Regions from separate parts of the Homo sapiens genome. Here region 1 is linked to region 2. The links are contacts of gene promoters, found by promoter capture Hi-C in blood cells and fetal thymus (Javierre and others, 2016). All regions are on one chromosome and are shown on one strand. The core of a region is centred on a gene start or on the middle of the fragment in contact, and the rest is flanking DNA. Distances in the headings are between cores, read along the strand shown. Region 1 overlaps ITSN2 (intersectin 2). Region 2 holds the start of ITSN2 (intersectin 2).

Region 1 (3,767 bases), core at 20-2,519, 93 kb after region 2:
TGTCATTAGAGGGCAGGAAGAAAGGGTGGGAGGGATTAAAGTAAATTTTGCTGAAGTAGAAGATGAAGTCAGGTCCCAGGACTTCCAAATTCCCGGTAAGATAGGAGGCAAGGTCTGATCAACTTAATGGATGAGGGTGTTACCGGAGGTTTCATTGAAAGTGAAAAGGATTAGAAATTCCACTGAGTCTTGGCCACATTTTCGATGACAAGCTGAAATGTTTTTCTAGCCTTCTAATCTGTTAATGCTATTTTGCTAACATTAATTAATAAGTAGTTAAGAAGAAGTAATAAGTAGTTTTGCTAGGCCTGTGAGAATTTATATAAAATGTTCAGTTTAACTCAGTATGTAAATTAACAACTAAAAATTAATTACAACTATAAATGACAGATGTGAAAGAGATTAAAATTGACCTCTTACTAAAACAACTTGGCCTAACTACAGAATAAATGAACGAGATTTTTCTTCTTGATTAGGTTGAAAACACTAGGAAAAAGTGTATCTAGAAATTAATACTTTTAAAAGCTTTTGGCCAGGTGCAGGTGCACACCCATAATCCCAGCACTTTGAGAGGCCGAGGCAGGAGTATCACGTAGGTACTGGCGTTAGAGACCAGCCTGGGCAACATAGGAAGACCCTGTTTCTACAAAAAGTAAAAAAAAATTAGCGGGGCTTGGTGGTGTGCACCTGTAGTCCCACCTGCTGTGGAGACTGAGGTGGCAGAATCACTTGAGCCCAGGAGGTCAAGGCTACAGTGAGCTGTGATTGCACCACTGCACTCTAGTAGCCTGGGTGACAGAGTAAGACCCTGTCTGAAAAGTCAGCCAGCCAGCCAAGTCCGTCAGTGAAGGGAGGTAGAAAGGAAAGTAGGAAGGGCATGTAAGTAAATGTGGTAAATGTGTGTGTGTGTATGTATGTATGTACATATGTGTACCTATATATAGCCAATACTCATAGCTTACGGTGATTCCTTTCCTTAAGACCATACTTTTTTTTTTTTTTTATACTTTAAGTTCTGGGATACATGTGCAGAACGTGCAGGTTTGTTACATAGGTATACATGTGCCATGGTGGTTTGCTGCACCCATCAACCTGTCATCTACGTTAGGTATTTCTCCTAATGCTTTCCTCCCCTAGTCCCCCACCCCCTGACAGGTCCCGCTGTGTGATGTTCCCCTCCCTGTGTCCATGTGTTCTCATTGTTCAACTCCCACTTGTGAGTGAGAACATGTGGTGTTTGGTTTTCTGTTTCTGTGTTAGTTTGCTGGGAATGATGGTTTTCAGCGTCATCCATGTCCAAGACAATACATTTAAATCAGGTACAATGCTGAGCATTTTGCAGCATTGAAATACTTTGGTTTGTGTAATTCCTCAGGGTTTATTGTATTCTTGTCTGAATTTATATTGCTCTGGCTTAGCTATTTTATTTTATTTATTTATTTATTTTTGAAACTGGGTCTCAATCTGTTACCCAGGCTGGAGTGCAGTGGCGGGATCATGGCTCACTACAGCCTCGACCACCCGAGCTCACGCCATCCTCCCACCTCAACCTCTTGAGTAGTGGAGACTACAGGCACACACCACCACACCTGGCTATTTTTTTTTTTTTTTTTTTTTGTGGAGATGGAGTTTCTCACTATGTTGCCTACGCTTGTCTCAAACTCCTGGCCTCAAGCAACCCTCTTACCTTGGCTTCCCAAAGTGCTGTGATTACAGGCATGAACCACCGTGCCTGGCAGACTTAACTATTTTAAACTAGTCTTAAACTAGATTTACAGGATAATATTTCATAAGTGTTTGCTTTCATTCTAACTATTTTAGAACACCATTTTATGGGAGCTACATTACTGTGACATCATACAGTTTAGCCATAGCAGCTCTGGTTTAGGAGTTTTCTAAATATTTCATTCATGATGTAATAAATAGCCAGACATATAACATTAAAATGAGAATTATTTACCATAAACATAAATGAAGTTGCCCTAATAATCCATTTATTACTAATTAAGCTTTAAGTCTATTGTTAATCAAATTTAGAATAATCCATTCAAGTTAACATTTGTTGAGTTTGTAACCATGTGCCTCTGGTGACATACAAAAATGAATAAGGAGACCACAGTCTAGGAAAAAAAAGAAATGTGTATTACTGTACAAAATATAACATGATAAATTTCAATACTAATTTATATGAGTAAGTACTGTGGGAACCCAGAGAATGAAGGAAAAACAACCAAATAGAATTGGGGAACATTTTTCCCAAGGATAGGATGGAGGAAGGCCTTGAAGGATTATGCCTTATATTTGCTTAGTGCTTTACAGTTTCCAAAGCGCCTTCATAAATATACTCAATTTAATTCTGAAAGATACCCTAGAGGAGGGCAGCACAGGTATTTCCCCCCAAATTTGTAGATGACAAAGCACACAAGATAGCATTCATTATCTTAACGAAGGATAACCAGGTAGCATGGCTAAGACTGAAATGTGGTTCTTTTAACTCTCAAGTCTGTAGTATTTCCTCTAAACCATGTAATATTCTGGGCAGAAGAGAATACCTTAAATAAAAACATTGAGGCTTGCATGTGCCAGGTGTTTTTAAAGAATGTCATATAACTATTTGCCTAGAATATCGAACAAATGGTAAGAGATGAAGCTAGAAAGGTAAGTTGAAACCTGACAAAGAAACTGTAATTTCAGAGTATTCAAATTCTACACTAAGAAGTTTGAACTTTTAAGAGCTTTAAACTAGAGAGACAACATCTGCTAGGAGAAAAATCCTAATGGGTCTAAAGTGGCTTACCATAGAGTAAAAGGCATCAAGATTGGAAAAGGAGAAGACAGACTGTATTGATTTGCAGAAGACATGATAATCTATGTAAAAAGTCCCATAGAATCTATTAAGCTACTAGAACTATTTAAATGAGTTTAGCAAGGTTGCAGAATACAAGATCAATATAACAAAATCAGTTGTAGTTCTGTATAGAAACGATGACTATTCAGAAATTGAAATTTAAAATACCATTTACAATTGCATAAAAATATGAAATACAGATAAAACTGATAAAAGATTTGCAAGACCTGTTTATTGAAAGTTACAAAGTTTTATTGAGAAAAATTGAAGTCCGAAATAAATGGAAAGATATATAGTGTTCATGGATTGGAAGATTCAGTATTGATAAGAAGTCAGTTCTTCTCTTAAGTCCTGTGTAAACAAATTTTTTAGAAAAAGATAAGAAGTCTGTTCTTCTCAAATTCTTACACAGACTCAAAGCAATTTACATCAAAACTTTAACAGGCAGCCAGGTGCTGTGATCCACATCTGTAACCCTAACACTTTGGGAGACCAAAATGGGAAGATTGCGTGAGACCAGGAGTTCGAGATCAACCCGGGCAGCAAAGCAAGACCTCATCTCTACAACAACAACAAAAATCTCAGCAGGCTTTGTTTTTTTTTTTTGTTTCTTTTTGTTTTTGTAGCAAATGACGAGATGATTCAAAAGCAAAACAACTTTGAAAAGGGAACAAAGTTGGAAATCTTTTAGTACCTGAATTTAAGGCTTATTATAAAAGTTACAGCAGTCAAAACAGTTGTGATATTAGCATCTAGACAGGAAAATAGATCAATGGAACAGAGTAGGTAAATAGATTCATGCTACGTGTGTTTGTGTGTGTGTGTGTGTGTGTGTGTGTATAAACAACAGATTTTCGACAGAGGTGCAAAAGCAACTCAGTGGAAAAAGAACAGTCTTTTCAGCAAATGGTATTGGAAC
Region 2 (3,826 bases), core at 958-3,457:
GACATTGGTCAAAGGATGGGAGAAAAATGAAGACTAGCTATGTGCCTAACAGGAATAAAAAATAGGTTTTACCTCTCAGACCAACTCTCTGGAGCACTATGTTGTGAAGGATTCTGGGGCTTTGACTCTCAAATATGGGCTCCAAAAGAGCATATCAGTTAACTGGTGAAGGGTGCAATGGGAATGAGGCCACGTGCTCAAGATTGCTATCCTTGGCCTGGGTGGTTTGTTTGCAGATAAGGACAGATTGGCTGGTCCCCAGCAAGTGAGGGGCCTCCTAGACTGATAAAAGAGTCAGGCTTCTCTGTGTCACTGAAGCTCAGGACCTGTCTGTCAGGTCTTGGTCAGGTTCTAATCGAAGAGTTAGGAAAAACACTGAGTGTGAGAGCGGGAAAAGCCTGTTTATCATCATCGATGTTTGGTAAATTCCTCCTAAGCTGGCTGGCCAGTTCAGATAGGCCTGGGTTTGGAGCCATCTCACCTTCACCTGCCTCAACAGGTAAGGAATGAAAGGATGCCAGGGGTTATTTGATCTACACAGATCAAATCAAGGGATATGAGTTTTGGACCCCAGACCAGCCCTCACCCTGCTTCTAAAAGCCAAAATAAATCTTGGGTCTTGGCCGGGCGTGGTGGCTCACGCCAATCCCAGCACTTTGGGAGGATGAGGCGGGTGGATCACCTGAGGTCAGGAGTTTGAGACCAGCCTGGCCAACATGGTGAAACCAGTGTCTACTAAAAATACAAAAATTAGCCGGGCGTGGTGGCAAGTGCCTGTAATCCCAGGTACTTGGAAGGCTGAGGCAGGAGAATTGCTTGAACCTGGGAGGCGGAGGTTGCAGTGAGCACAGATCTCACAGTTGCGCCACTGCACTCCAGCCTGGGCAACGGAGTGAGAGTCTGTCTCAGGAAAAAAAAAAAAAAAAAAAAAAAAAAAAAAAGAAATCTTGGGTCTTATATCCAAAAATCTTGAGTCTTACATTTGGTTACTTTTTTTTTTTTGAGACAGAGTTTCGCTCTTGTCGCCCAGGCTGGAGTACAGTGGTGCAATCTCTGCTCACTGCAACCTCCGCCTCCCAGGTTCAAGCGATTCTCCTGCCTCAGCCTTCCGAGTAGCTGGGACTACAGGCGCCCGCCACCACGCCCAGCTAATTTTTGTATTGTTAGAAGAGGCGGGGTTTCACCATGTTGGCCAGGCTGGTCTCCAACTCCTGACCTCAGATGATCCACCTGCCTCGGCCTCCCAAAGTGCCGGGGTTACAAGCGTGAGCCACTGTGCCAGGCCGACATTTGGTTACGTTCATTAGGAAACACTAACTCCTCCCTCACCCCAATCAAAAGAAAGCCTTTCCCCTTGAAGAAGCTTCTTGTCAAGGGCAAACCTTTGGGGTTTTGGGATACGGTGGCGGCTTGAGTTGAAGTCTGGTCTTTTGTGAGGAGACCAGGAACCGGGAGGGGAGAAAAGAGACAAATTCTGAGTAGGAGCTTCGCCTGTCCCTTGGCGAGGGGTGGGGAGGAAAGTTTAGCTTCGTCGTGCTATGCTCTATGGGGACAGAGTCTTCCTACTGCTCGGCGGAGTGTGACTAGCGTAGAGGGTGCTCCTCGTGGGCGCTCCGCGTGTGTTATGGAGGAGGGCGAGGAATGGTGAATGGATGACCGAGGGTATGGTTAAGTCCTCCAGGTCCCTGAGAAGGGTTCAAGAGGCCTGTAACAGACCCATGGGCAAGGGTGGGATCAACCTCCTTCCCACCTTCCACCCCCCAATTCCCAGAGAATTCGTTCCCCCAGATCAGTGGAGAAAACTTCGGCGAGTGAGAAGGTTCCAGGGAGAACCCCGTGGTGGGTGCAACAGGGATGTGGCAGGCACTGCTTGGGACTTTCCAAAACCCCGGCGTCTGCCGTGGCAGGAAAAGCACCACCCAAGCTCAGCATGTTACCTCGGGGAGGAGGAGCCAGGTGGGTCTGTGCAACTCCAGGAAGGGCTGCCAGGTCTGGGGCTTCGGGGCCTCCCCGAGGGCAGAGAGGAGCGCTTCGGACCCGACCGACTCGGAGCAGACCTTCAGGGTTCAATGCCCCGGAACTCCTGGGGCGAGGAGCCACGCCCGGGCAGTTTCGGGCTCCGGAGGGTGGGGAGTCGGTGCCCGGCAGCGGGCGGGCCGTCAGCTGCCCGGCCCGGCGCCTACCTCCCCGCCCCCCGGCTTCCTGCGGAGGCCGCGGCCGCCATGTTGTTGTGGGGCTGAGGCGGCGCCGGCGGAGCCCTGAGCGGCTGTGACAGGCTACGCAACAGGTTCGCGGGCGGCGGCCTGACGACCAAGCCAGCTGCAGTGGCGGCGACGGCGGCAGAGCAGGGTCTCCCCGCGCCTGCCCGCGCCCAGGCTGCCGGTGCTGAGGGACGCGGAGTCGCGCTGTGACGAGCGGGAGGCGCGGCGAGGGCGCCAGGTGGGTGAAGCCGCTAGCGGGGCTGCAGCAAGGCGCGGGGCAGGTGCGGGCGCCGCGCCCGCTGCCCGGAGGCTCTGCGGGTCGGGCTGAGGCGGCTGTGCGCTCCGCACGATGGGGACGGGTCCTCGGGAGTACGGGCGGCCCCCGAGCTAGGCCCCTGGCGGGCTCGGCCGTGCGGGGCGGAAACCTCCGGCCCCGGGTTCCTTCCTCTGCTGCCGGGCCGGGACAGACGCCGAGGGGGCCTGGGCTGGGCTGCCCCTTCCTTGCGGCCGAGCCCGGGTCCCTGGCCGCGGCCTCGTCTGGCAGGTGGCGGACGCCGGCGAGGGTCGGGGGTGGCGTGGCCCCCTCGCTTTCGGGGTGTGAGCAGAAGAGAGCTCTGGGGGCACCCGCACGCCTCCTCGGGGACCCATTTTATTTTCGCGGAGTTGGTTTTCCTTCCTGGCAAGGGTTGGTGCCGAATGTCAGGTGAGCCGCATCCCGGTGCGTCAAAGTAGCCCGAGTCACGAGAGGACAGTGGGCGGATGCTTGGCGTCTACCGCTCGCGTTCCTCCGGAGTTGGAAATGTTAAATTTACCTTCAGCGTTATTGACTTCCAGAATATACAGGAAGCACCGAGAGATGTAATCTCTCAGGCCAGATAAAGTTTATTTGTGTATTTATTTATTTATTTTTAAAGACGTCTGCATATGCATAGTGAGTGGGTAAACCGAGGCTGAAACTGCAGATGGCTTTGTATTCTATAGAAAGATGCTCCGTTTGGATTTATTAATTATGCGCCTTGTCGCTCTAGAATTACCAATGGCAAGTGTGCTTTATTTGAAACTTGTGTTAATACTGAAATAGGAATATTTTTTGATGGAGCCAACCCCTTTACGATAGGAATTAAGGTTAGCATAGAAATGACTTGCTTTGCTCCATGCTTCTAGTTTGTCTCACTAGTGTTTGCTTGCTTACTCAGAAATAGGCAAGGTGTGACTTGAAATTTTACGTTGTTAGTGAGCTCAGTTTAGGTAGCATAGCTCTTGTAGTTTAAAGCTTCTTAAGCGTTTCGAAAAATTGCCTCTCTCCCTGTGCTGGTTTGCTATATTGTTAATCAGTGATAAAACCTAAAAGCTACCTAGAAACATCGCATAAAACATTTACGCGAATTAATAATGACGTCCTTCCAAATTTAAAGATACTGACAACTCTGATGTGTTTTCCTTTAGCTTTTTTTGGCTGTGCCTGTGACTCTCTTGTAATTTCAAAAGTAAATAAAGTGGATGTATTTTATGTTTTTGAAAACGTGGAAAAAATGTGCATTGCTGCTATTTTGATGTAATATTAATAAGCAGTTGAAAAGCTTGCATTTTTTCACCCTTCCATGCATTGATAACTATTCCCTGTG

Evidence for each region. The method cuts DNA at HindIII sites, captures the fragments that hold promoters and counts their contacts. A CHiCAGO score of 5 or more calls a contact.
Region 1: a contact is called between a fragment that was not itself captured here and the fragment with the promoter of ITSN2 in region 2, in 1 of 17 cell types (endothelial precursors). The highest score is 5.4, in endothelial precursors.

Annotation. Positions count from the first base shown.
Region 1 is chr2:24,264,618-24,268,384 of GRCh38, reverse strand. All of the region lies in intron 20 of ITSN2 (intersectin 2), which reads left to right. Among named protein-coding and RNA genes, the nearest start is that of FAM228A, 91 kb to the right of the region's middle. The HindIII fragment of the contact is 1,484 bases long and covers 528-2,011 here.
Region 2 is chr2:24,358,917-24,362,742 of GRCh38, reverse strand. ITSN2 (intersectin 2) reads left to right here and starts at 2,207. Exons shown (of 40, transcript NM_006277.3): 1 at 2,207-2,439. RefSeq lists an enhancer at 1,774-1,923 and silencers at 2,024-2,323, 2,334-2,383, 2,394-2,793. The HindIII fragment of the contact is 2,111 bases long and covers 1,366-3,476 here.